2 separate regions of the Homo sapiens genome follow, and region 1 is linked to region 2. Evidence: promoter capture Hi-C in 16 types of primary human blood cells and fetal thymus (Javierre and others, 2016). All regions are on one chromosome and are shown on one strand. Each heading gives the region's core, a stretch centred on a gene start or on the middle of the fragment in contact. The rest is flanking DNA. Distances are from core to core; before and after follow the strand shown.

Evidence for each region. Contacts are between HindIII fragments. The CHiCAGO score rates a contact against its expected background, and 5 or more counts as called.
Region 1: the fragment with the promoter of NSRP1 here is called in contact with the fragment with the promoter of GIT1 in region 2 in 1 of 17 cell types (fetal thymus); the score reaches 8.8 in fetal thymus.

Annotation. Positions count from the first base shown.
Region 1 is chr17:30,115,019-30,120,687 of GRCh38, reverse strand. NSRP1 (nuclear speckle splicing regulatory protein 1) reads right to left here and starts at 3,872. Exons shown (of 7, transcript NM_032141.4): 1 at 3,825-3,872; 2 at 2,515-2,608. The coding sequence starts at 3,844. MIR423 (microRNA 423) reads right to left here and starts at 3,609; the gene lies at 3,516-3,609. MIR3184 (microRNA 3184) reads left to right here and starts at 3,528; the gene lies at 3,528-3,602. RefSeq lists silencers at 3,440-3,509, 3,446-4,047 and enhancers at 3,760-3,859, 3,890-3,989, 4,010-4,129, 3,162-4,361. The HindIII fragment of the contact is 3,145 bases long and covers 2,719-5,669 here.
Region 2 is chr17:29,588,187-29,593,991 of GRCh38, reverse strand. It overlaps GIT1 (GIT ArfGAP 1), which reads left to right and starts at 4,344. Exons shown (of 20, transcript NM_014030.4): 1 at 4,344-4,665. The coding sequence starts at 4,614. It overlaps ANKRD13B (ankyrin repeat domain 13B), which reads right to left and starts at 860. Exons shown (of 15, transcript NM_152345.5): 1 at 257-860. The coding sequence starts at 370. RefSeq lists silencers at 2,066-2,255, 4,016-4,495, 4,756-4,945 and enhancers at 3,364-4,263, 5,163-5,805. The HindIII fragment of the contact is 9,256 bases long and covers 1,993-5,805 here.

The DNA.
Region 1 (5,669 bases), core at 2,623-5,122, 530 kb before region 2:
TCAAATAAAGTATAATGAGCACACAGGAATCCTCAGTATATTAGTTTCCTTTTCATATTTCAGTTTGCTTTATATTCATGTTCACATGTCTGTCTTCCCCACTAGACTAGACACTGGTTGAAAGCAACACTATATAAGGTCCCAAAAAAAACTGTTAAAGCGTACCACATAATAAAAAGTATATAGGCTATATAGATGCAAAACTGATCAACTCTTAACCTATTGTAGGTATTAAATATCTACTAATGCAACGACATAATTAAAAATTCAAAAGTTGTAATTAGTAACTTCCTCAATATTCCATTTGAAAATATTCTAGTTGGCTACGCAGAAATGGAGATTTAACTAGTAACCTTGATTCATTTCTTATGGTCAATTATTCTAATATTTTATGAAGAAATAAAAACAGAAAAATGGAAGAAAAACTTAAGTCACTGTTAAGGGGGAAAAAATCCATTTTAAGAAAAATGTGATTCTACAACTACATGGATAAATCTGGCATTATACTGAGTGGAGTAAGTCAGACATAAAAGAGTACATACTGTATGATTTTTTTTATATGAAATTCTGTAACAGGCAAAACTAATCTAGTGATAGAAATATGAGCATTTGTCTGGGGTAGCAAGTGGGGAGGTAGACTGACTGCAGGAGGGTATGGAAAGCCTTTTGGGAGAGAGGGAAATGTTCTAAATCTTGATTGGGGCATATACATTTGTCAAAAATCATCAAGCTGTACACTTAAAATCTGAGCATTTTATATGTAAATTATACCTCAATTTTTAAAAACTGTGAGCCATAAAGAGCCAATGTCTTCAAAAGTAGCAAAGAAATATCAAATATGTTAAATTATCCACCCATGCTATTATATAATAAAAACTGAAAACCGGTCAGGCACAGTGGGTCATGCCTGTAATTCCAGCACTTTGGGAGGCCAAGGTGGGTGGATCATCTGAGGTCAGGAGTTCGAGACCAGCCTGATCAACATGGTGAAATCCCACCTCTACTAAAAACACAAGAATTAGCCAGGCGTGGTGGTGTGTTCCTGTAATCCCTGCTACTCAGCAGGCTGAGGCAGGAGAAACGCTTGAACCCAGGAGGCGGAGGTTGCAATGAGCTGAGATCGCACCACTGCACTCCAGCCTGGGCGAAAGAGGGAGACTCCATCTCAAAAAAAAGAGGCTGGGCATGGTGACTCATGCCTGTAATCCCAACACTTTGGGAGGCCAAGGCAAGTGGATCACCTGAGGTTAGGTTCAAGACCAGCCTGGCCAACATGGTGAAACCCCGTCTCTCCTAAAAATATAAAAATTAGCTGGGCGTGGTGGTGGGGCACCTGTAATCCCAGCTACTCAGGAGGCTGAGGCAGGAAAATCTACTAAATACAAAAAATATTAAAAATACTAAAAATACAAAAAAATAAAAAAATAAAAATTAGCCAGGCATGGTGGCAGGCACCTGTAACCCCAGCTACTCAGGAGATTGAAGCAGGAGAATCACTTGAACCTGGGAGGCAGGGGTTGCAGTGAGCCAAGACTGCACCATCCCACTCTAGCCTAGGTAACAAGAGCGAAACTCTGTCTCAAAAAAAAAAAGAAAAAAAAATATTAAAACATGATGGGAGTATTGGAAAAGCACATATTTACTGGGTGCGGTGGCTTACGCCTGTAATCCCAGCACTTTGGGAAGCTGAGGCAGGCAGATCACCTGAGGTCAGGAGTTCAAGACTAGCCCGGCCAACATGGTGAGACCCTGTCTCTACAAAAATACAAAAATTAGCTGGTCATGATGGCAGGTGCCTGTAATCCCAGCTACTCAGGAAGATTAGGCAAGAGAATCGCTTGAACCCAGGAGGCGGAGGTTGCAGTGAGCCGAGATCGCGGCATTGCACTCCAGCCTGGGCAACTGAGCAAGACACTGTTTCAAAAAAAAAAAAAAAAAGAGAAAAGAAAAGCACACATTTGGGATTGTTTCTGATATATAACTGTGGGTTTCACAGAAGTAGTTTTGGCTGCTAAAATAGAAAATGTTGATATTAGATGTTACTGTAGTACTATCAAGAGTAACTATTCACTACCACGATTATAACTGAGCAATTACATTTGGCAGACACTGAATTTAAAAAAAAAGTAGCGTTGTTAAGAACTGTTATATAGTGATCTTAGCTCATGGTTAACAAATTAAAAACTGCTTTGCTAATAAAAATTTGTAGAAAATTGGTGACATCTTAATAACTCATACCTAGGGATCTTTACACCAACAATTTTGTTATGACAATTTCAGTAGTCTGAAAAGACCGTGTATTTGTTTAAAGGTAAAGTTTGCAGCTTTTAGAGGGAAAAAAATCTTTAAAAAATCGGTGGAGCTGCTTTCTTTACACCTTCCTTTTTGACAATTCTGTAAATTATACTCCACTGTACTGACAAATAACAAAGGCAAAGGTATCAGAGTCACAAGTTCAATTTTTAAAAAATTTACATTTCCAACCATGCACGAGTAAAACATAGGTTTCCTTACCTCATCATCATCATCAGAATCATTCCCAAACACTGATGGTTTTTGCAAAACAGGGTGCAACTGCTGTGTTTTCTTTGGCAAAATAAGCCCATACCTGCATATATTTTTTTTGAAATAGAAATTAAACCTTTATGTTTAAATGTTAACAAATACATCTACTACCTCTTCCACATGAAGCTACCAAATCAAAACATGTCATAAGCTTTATGAACACGTAACAGACTGTTTTTGCTTCTCAGTGATCTCAAAATTCTAACATGCCGTAAGATTCTATAATTACTACTCTAAGTGATCATTTGTGGACACGGGCCAAACTCGAATACCATTTTTATCAAAGAAGAGAAGTAAATGAAAAGTTCAGAAATGTTTTAAGATGGCGAAGTGACAGTAACATTTAAAAAAAAAAAAAAAAAACATGTGTAGTGGAAAGTTTAGTTCATGTCCACTAAAGATTTTAAAATGCTTTCAACTATCCTTGTGGTCTAAACAGTCAAGAAAATGGCTAGATTTTTTTTCCTACTGTGTACTTACACAGTTTCTAAGAACTGACTGGATAGTGTAACTCACGAAAATTTTTAAAAGATAACTGAGAAACCCAAGTAGCCATGGGGCAAGTTCGCATTACACTTTATTAAGATCATGTGCTTTGCCTCGGAGCATCTGAGAGAACCATCCCATCAGATCCAACTCCTTTAGTTTCTCACGTTTTGGCCTTTAAGATGCGGAGATCACGGGAGGCCGCATCAAAAGTAAGGATTACACATCAAAGGTAAAACTTTCAAGTACGTACAGTATTTGTCTCTTTTGCGGCAACGTATACCCCAATTTCCTATATGCCTACCCTTTTTCTGTGGCTTCTCAGAACAATATTCCTAAAACGAGAAGGAAGGGCGGGAATCAGGACTTGAGCTTCTGCCAAGGAGAACAAGGCCCTCTAAGGAAGCCAGGAACTGTCTCTCTTCACACTGCCCCTGAGAGCATCCAAGCGGGGAGAAACTCAAGCGCGGGTTAGGAAGCAAGACTGAGGGGCCTCAGACCGAGCTTTTGGAAAATAGAAAAGTCTCGCTCTCTGCCCCTCAGCCTAACTTCCTTTATTTCCTCACAAGTTTCTCCCTCAAACTTCGGGCTTCCATCCGGGAAAATGTACGGGGGAGGGGAATCTATGTTCCTCAGGACTTCTCGTTTTTTCCCGTCTCTACCCTTGACGACACAGTCCCTTCACTTCCAGCGCATTTAAAACTCCTCGGCCAAAGATACAGTCGCCGTAGTTTCTCATCCCCCAGCCTGACCCTAACTCCCGGATCACTCACTGCCTGCCCGGAATCGCCATCTTGCTCCCGTGTCCGCTGAACGTGGCCGACGCCTCCGTGACGCTGACGCCGATGTCGTCACGTAAACTCTCGCGCGGCTTTGGGTGGCCCGGATCCTGCTTGTCGGTTGAATCGCTGGTTTGAGTCACTTCTATGGTACTGGGAATCGGATCCAGTGACCTCTGTTTTGTTTCGGAGCCCACCGGCTGCCTCAAAATCTGTAGGAGAAAGGAATGACAACGTTCTAGGCCAGTTGTTCGCAGTGTGTGGTTCTGGGACCAGCGGCATCAGCAACACCGGAGATACTGTTAAAATGACAAATTCTCGGGCCCTACCCCAAACCTGCAGAATCAGAAACTTTGGAGTGAAGCGAGTTATCTGAATTTTAACCAGCGGGTAATTCTGATAAAGTTTGAAAACCACTGCCATGGCTATCGATATTCCCCCTACCCCCTTCCAAGTGTTCACTTTAACTGGTTCAGGATAATTAGGCGAAAAATGAAAATCTGTGTATTAATAATACCTTACATAGGACCAAAATTATTATTAAAAAAAAAATTTTTTTTTTGAGACGGAGTTTCGCTCTTGTTGCCCAGGCTAGAGTGCAAAGGCGCGAACTCGGTTACCTCAACCTCCGCCTCCCGGGTTCAAGCGATTCTCCTGCCTCAGCCTCCCGAGTAGCTGGGATTACAGGCATGTGCCACCACGCCCGGCTAAGTTTGTATTTTTAGTAGAGACGGGGTTTCTCCATGTTGGTCAGGCTGGTCTCGAACTCCCGACCTCGGGTGATCCGCCCGACTCGGCCTCCCAAATTGCTGGGATTACAGGCATGAGCCACCGCGCCCGGCCCAAGGACCAAAATTATTAATAATACTGTTCACGGGCCATTGGGTATAGGAATCAGGATCATATATGATACTTTTTTTTTTTTTTTTTTTTTTTTGAGACGTAGTCTCGCTCTTGTCGCCCAGGCTGGAGTGCAGTGGCATAATCTTGGCTCACTGCAACCTCCGCCTCCCAGGTTCAGGCGATTCTCCTGCCTCAGCCTCCTGAGTAGCTGAGATTACAGGCGTCCGCCACCATGCCTGGCTAATTTTTGTATTTTTTTAGTAGAGGCGGGGTTTCACCATGTTGGCCAGGCTGGTCTCAAACTCCTGACCTCATGTGACCCACCCGCCTCAGCCTCCCAAAGTGCTGGGATTACAGGCGTGAGCCACCGTGCCTGGCCCATATATGATACCTTTTTGAAAACTCTGCCCACATCTGTGCACTCATTCACTCTTGGTTCATTCCCAGCTAGTCTCAGAGCAGCCAAAGAGATCAATTACTGAGATAAGGATGTTGAAATCTCCAACTATAATTGCGAATTTGCTTCTCCTTTCAATTCTATCAGTTTGTGTCGTGTATTTTGAAATTAGGTATGTAAACATTTAGGATTGTTACGTTCTCTTGCATTAACCTCTACTAACCTCTATAGCATTAAGAAGTGGCCCTCTTTATTCCTTTATTCTTCTTTGTCTGCTTGGTCTGCTATCAATATAACTAGCTTTCTTTTGATTAATGCTAGCATAGTGTATCTTTTTCAACCCATTTTAATCTATTTGTGTATTTACATTCAAATTGGATCACTTGTTGACAGAAAATAGTTGGGTCTTGCTTTTTTATCCAGTCTGACAGTCTCTTCCATTTAATTTGGATGCTTAAAACATTTTCATTAAAGTGACTATGATTGCAGGCTGGGTGGGGTGGCTCAGGCCTGTAGTCCCAACACTTTGGGAGGTTGAGGCCAGCATGCACAACATAGCCAGACCCCATCTCAAAAAAAAAAAAAAAAAGTATGATTGC
Region 2 (5,805 bases), core at 3,095-5,594:
CCTCACTGCCCCGGCGGAGGAGGGGCACAGAGGCCTCTACTCTCATCTAGGTGAGTCCGAAACACGTGTGGTCCCGCCCGTCCCGGCCGGAGGGGATCACCCTTTCCCGGTCAACAAGCACAAAAGCCGCGGCCGCAAACAAAGACGCGCCGCAAACTCGCCAGGGAGGCGGGACAGCCCGCGCCGCACCCCCTCCCCAGGCCGGACGGGCGTGCCCGGCCGCGGGGTCCCCGCGGCGCCCCGAAGGCGCTCCTACCTGGCCCGCGCGGACCTCCTTCTCCAGCTCGCGGTGGCGGTTGTGCCACACGAGGTAGTGCAGCGGATACTTGCCCTCGGGCCCCTTCCTGGCGGAGGCGTTGGCGGGGATCATCGCCCGCTCCTCATGCCGGGGCCGCGGCGCCCGGCCGGGGAGGAGGGACGGCGCCGGAGCCGGGGCCCGGGGCCGCGGGGCGGGGGGCCGGCGCTGCCTGCTCGCGGGGCTGCGGCTCGGGCATGTGCGAGCGGCGGCGGGCGGGGGCGGCGCGCCCGGCGCGGTGCGGGCGGCGCGGGCGACGGGCGTCCTCGCGAGGCGGCGGCGGCGGGCGGCGCGGAGAGGCCCCCACCCGCCCTGGGAGGGAGCGGGCACTCGGCGGCGCTGCGCGGACTCGCGCTCGCCTCCCACACCCCCGCACACAAAGACGCCGCTCGGCGGAGGGAGCAGGCGCCCGCAGCGGGCGCGGGGGCGCACGGGACGCGGGCCCCGGGGACGCCGCCGCAGGGACGCGCGCCCGCAGCCCCCGGGTCCCCACAGCTGCATAGCCCGGCCCTCAGCCCGAGCGGCCGGCGCGGGATACGGGGATGTGGGGATGATGGGGAGAGAGGAAGGGGACCAGGCGCCCCGGGTAGAGCTTGTCAGCTCAGCCCCGCGGCATCATGGGGTTTGTAGTCCGCCTCGTGAAACTGGGGGTGGCAGGTGGCCGAAGAGGGTCTGCACTGTCCCCGGATCTCGTGGGAGAGTGGGCGGGGAGTCAGGCCTGGCCCAGACGCGGGCGGGGCCCTGACGCCAGGTGGGCTGGGACGCACCTCCCCCGCTGGCATTTTGCCTTTTGCTGGGGAAGTGGGGGGGCACGGGCCTAGGTCGAGCGTTTGGGAGACGGGGTGGAGGTGTGGTCTTCAGAATTGAGCTTGGGTCCCAGGGGCCATGAAGAAGGATCCGGATTCCCAGAAGAGAGCGTCTGATTGGGAACTCCTGAGAAAGGTGTGGGGCATCAGTACCAAGGGTCATTGGAGCAGCCAGGGGTCTGGCCCCTGGAACATTTCTGAGGAGTCTTCCCTGCCCTGTTAGAAAATTAAACTCCATCTTCCACACATGTCATTGGAAACAGAATGTCCAGTAACGCGGGAAAGATGGTCCCTTTCCCCCCGCACACTGTCCCCAGCAAGAACCAGAGTGAGGTTGGACAGAAAAAGCAGCAGGTGGCAGCTCCGTTCCTCCACCCAGCTGGCCCTTCAGGAAGGGAAGTGACTGATTCCAGAGACTGTCTCCTTCCTGAATGACCCCAGGGTGAAGAGGTACTTCCAGAATGGTCCCTGCAGAGGGTGTGGTAAAAGTTGAATTGGCCTCTCAAGCGCCAATTGCAAGGCCTGGAAGGACCAAGAGGCTTGGACCAGTCCCTGGAGGGAGGGGACTGTGATGTCAGAGAGACCAGAGTTCGAATAGCTCCAACTGCCTGACCTTAAAAGAGCAAACTGCTTAATTTTTCCGACTTTCTCGGTCCACTCCCCTTCAAAATGAGAATCTAGATACTACCTCCTGGGGTGAGCTAAGGATAATGACTGCCCTGGAAACAGCGCCTCCCTCCCCCAACCAGGCGGGCCGAGACAGGTGGCGGGACCAGGCACGGTGCCTTCTTGAGCCCACCTCAGAACAAGGCAGGAATAAGGGATTCCACACCGGCCCTACTTAAAACAACAATCCAAGAAGTGTTTGTGTGGGAGGTGCCAGCAAAAGCTTGCAAACTCTCTCAGGTTTCTTTGTGTGGTCTTCCCTCCTTCCTCCTCCACACCCTGTGGTGCCAGGCCCCAGCGGGAAGAGATGAGGGAGGAGCGGGCTGCCTCGCCCCTTTCTCCCGCCTGGGAGGAGCCAGCTGGCGTCTCCGGGGGCCCGGGACCGCTGCCCGCCTGCACCACCAGGGGTCAGCAGAGTGTCGTGGCTGCAGCCAGTGCAGGGGAGGGGGCTGGCGCGGTTGAGGGGCATCTAGGAGTGGCCGGGAGCATGCCTGTGCATTTCCTTATTAAATTGTTTTTCGAACCTTGTGTGTGATTCCACTGTAGCAGTCCTGCTTCCTGGGGTGGTGACATCTCCACGGGGGAATCCAGAAACCCTTTTATCTCCAGTCCCAGGCCCAGAAGTTTGGCTGTGACGGGGCTGGGGGAAACAAAGTTTGGACGATGTGTCCGCGCCAGGGCCACTCCCAGGTAGTCTCTGAGCCAACCAGGAGATGGGGAGTGGGGTGGAGGGGTAAGCAGAGTGAATCATCCTTCTTCCCCAGCAAAGCCCAGGAGTCCGAGGACAGGGGGAGTTCAGGATGGATTGTGGGGAGTTGTCGATTGTGGGGAACTGTCCCCTGGGCGGCCGTGTTCTTTTTTTGCCAGGCGGCGGTAGACACTGAACCCAGGTCGCTTGCGCTTCGGCCCGCGCTCTCAGCTGCCACGTGCTCGAGACGCGCCCACACAGCGGAGAAACAAAGACAGCCAAGCGGCAGGGCTGCCAGCAGCCTCCTCGACATTTAATAAATGAAATTCCATAGCTGGGGGTCGATCGGGGGTGAACGGGCGGCCACCGCTCGTGGACTGAGCGCCTGGCACGGGCTGCCTGGCCACTCCTCCCGTCTCACTCCCCCCGCCCCTTACCCCCTTCCCGCTGAGGCCACCAAGCCCATGGACTCTGGTGAGAGAGCAGCTCGGGGCGGCAGGTGGTGCTCCCCCCTACACACCAGCTAGGTATCGTTGCTTGCAAAAGCCCCACCAGCTGAGCGGCTGGCTGTCGAGGGAGGGGAGGCCTGCAAGATTTTTTTAAGGTGCAATTATAAATAAAGCCCATGGATCGCGATTTCAAACAAACTTGTCAATCTGGGCCGCAGCAAAAGGCGATGGAGGCAGCTTTGCATGTATTTCGGGTGGTGTGACTCATGAGCATTACTTGTCTCCCCTAGGGAAGGAGCCTGCCCACCCACAAATCACTGCCGCTCTGGCACCGTTGGGATAATCGACCAACTTGAGCACCCCTGCCAAAGGACTGCCCCCATCTTAACAAGCAGGAGTCTCTGACTCTTGGAGAACCCCTCCTCAATTGTCACCACTGACCTGGCCCCCAGGTCTGGCCCTGGGGACCTCTACCCTCTCCCCACAAGCAGAGTGCCCGGGCCTTTTGCTGCTGCAGGGATTGGGGGTTGGGTACACGCGCGGCACACGCGTATGGGGGCGCATGCTCAGTGCGGGGGCTGCGCTCATGTGCGGCCTCTACCTAGGCTCCCTGCCCCCCAGCCCACCCACGTCCCTCACCTGCCTTGCCTTTGCCTGCCTCGTCGTGTGAAGTCCAGGAAGAAAGGCCGTCACCTGAAACGGCCCCTCTATGTTATATGCACCCTTTCTGGACACACACACCTCTGGTGGCCCAGAAACACCGTGGGTGTGTGTAAGGCGGATGACAAGTGGATGTGAGTGCACACAGGCACAGTGGTCACTCCTCGGGAGGTCTTTAAAAACCGCCCAGATTCTCTCCTCTCTGGATGGAAGGATGCATGGAGAGATAGATATATTTTTAGTCCGGAGGCAGGGGAATACACTGCCTGACCTTTCTGGCACCTGGGCGTCCATATTGTTAGCAGTGGGCGTATTCAGCAAGAGTGTGACACATACACACACACCCCTGGACACACAGATGTGGACACCTACGGGACAGGGACGCACACCTCACCCCAACCAGAGATAGACGGGTACCCCAAGGCACAGCCCCTTTGACCTGGAGCGGGACTTGGGCCTCCAAGTCCTTCTTCCCTAATCCCCACCCTCGCCGTCCGTGGGCCCAGCGTCCCCCGGTCCACCCCACGCGGAAAGTGAAGGGGAGGGGGCTGTGAGGGTGACTCACATTGCCTCCGGGCCAGGCGAGCGCTGCAGCGGAGGCCAGGGCCGCAGGCCACGCTGCCCGCCGGGGCCGGGCATCTGCCGCGGCCCCTTTAAGCGCCCCCGCCCCCTCCTGCCCGCGCCCGGGCTTCCTTTCTCTAGGGGGCGCGGCCGGCAGCGCGCGGCGGGGCGGGGGTGCGGCCCCTCCCCCTGTGGGCAGGGCCTGCGCCGCTTCCTGCAGAAGCGGCCGGGAGCCGCGCAGGGGGCGGAGAGAGGAGCCGCGAGCGGCGGCGGGGCGGCGCGGGGCGGAGGGCGCCCGAGGGCGAGCGGGCAGGCGGGCACGGCGGGTTCCGGGCCAGCCCCGGGGCGGACGGTTGGCCGGGCGCGCGGAGCCTCGCCGGGGCCTCGCCGGAGCCGGGCCGGGCAGCAGGGGCCGCCGCCGCCGCCCGGGCCCGCCGCCCGCGCCCCCCACGCTGGCCCAGAGGGCTGCGGCCGCGTCGCCGCTGAGGATGTCCCGAAAGGGGCCGCGAGCGGAGGTGTGTGCGGACTGCAGCGCCCCGGGTAAGCGCGGCGGGGCCGGGGGCGGGACCGCACAGCCAGGCCGCCGCCGGGCGGGCGCCGGGGCCTGGCAAGAGCGCTGTGCGGGGCCGGAGGGCTGGGCGGGGCGGGGGGCTGCGGCCTCCAGGCTGGGCCCCCGCCTCGGCCACTGCGGAGCTGCGCCCTTGGCGGGAGGGCCGGCCTGGGGTGCCCATGCTCCCTGGAGGCCGTGGACTAGCGAGGAAGGACGTTCCCGGCGCCGCCTCCCGCTCCTCGGTCTGAGGGAGGCGGGCAGCTGGCTGCTCCTCCACCTCCATCTCTGTATCCGACGGAAGCGCCAGCCTGGGGTGGCAGGAGGGCCGTGGCGGAGGCCGTCAGGGCTTGGGAGGTGGGGGCGAGTGTGGTTTTATGTCATCTCAGTGCCACCCCCGCGTCTTGCACCTGCTGCTCGCGTGGTCGGTACGCCTGCCGGGGTGGTGGAGGGCAAGGAGCAGAGGGCCGGGCAGATGCGCCAGTGGGGCCTGAATACCGTCTCCTCAGGAGCAGATGAGCGGTGGCTACTCCCAGGACTCCCTGCCTCGGGTTCCTAAGGCTAGCGCTCCTTGCCGGGCCTGGCGTTCAGGGCCAGTCTAGACCCGGGTGTCTTCTCGGGAGGCATCCCCAGGCCTGCTGGTGGTGACTGGGAACAGCTCGGCTGGACCCTGCTGTTCCTGTTCACCGGTAAGGCCTGCTTGGGAAAGTGAGCTTGGCATCAAGCTATCCTGGGTGCGGGCCCCTCCCTGTCCCCTAGCCCAGTCTGGCCAGAAATGGGTGGGAGGCCGTGCCGAGATTCCCCGTATCCTGCTGGCTTCCTGGCCTGTCTCCTGGCTGTATTTACATGGTGGTTCCCTTCCTTTTCCTAACAGAGTTAGGACTGGGCTGGAGTGAAACCCCCCAGGCCTGCTGAGGAAGTCAGGGGTAATGATCCAAGAGGCTGCTCCCTTCTGATGAGGGAGGACAGCCAGTGACGGGGCTCTGCAGCTGGCCTGGGAAGGAAGCTCTAGCCCACATCCATTCTTTCTTTAGCAAAGGAGCTATCTCCCTGGTAGGCCCCTGGGCAGGCTGCGGAGGTCCGTGAACTCTAGCGGGGCTGTGGGCATGATTAAGAGTGAGAGTATGGGGTGC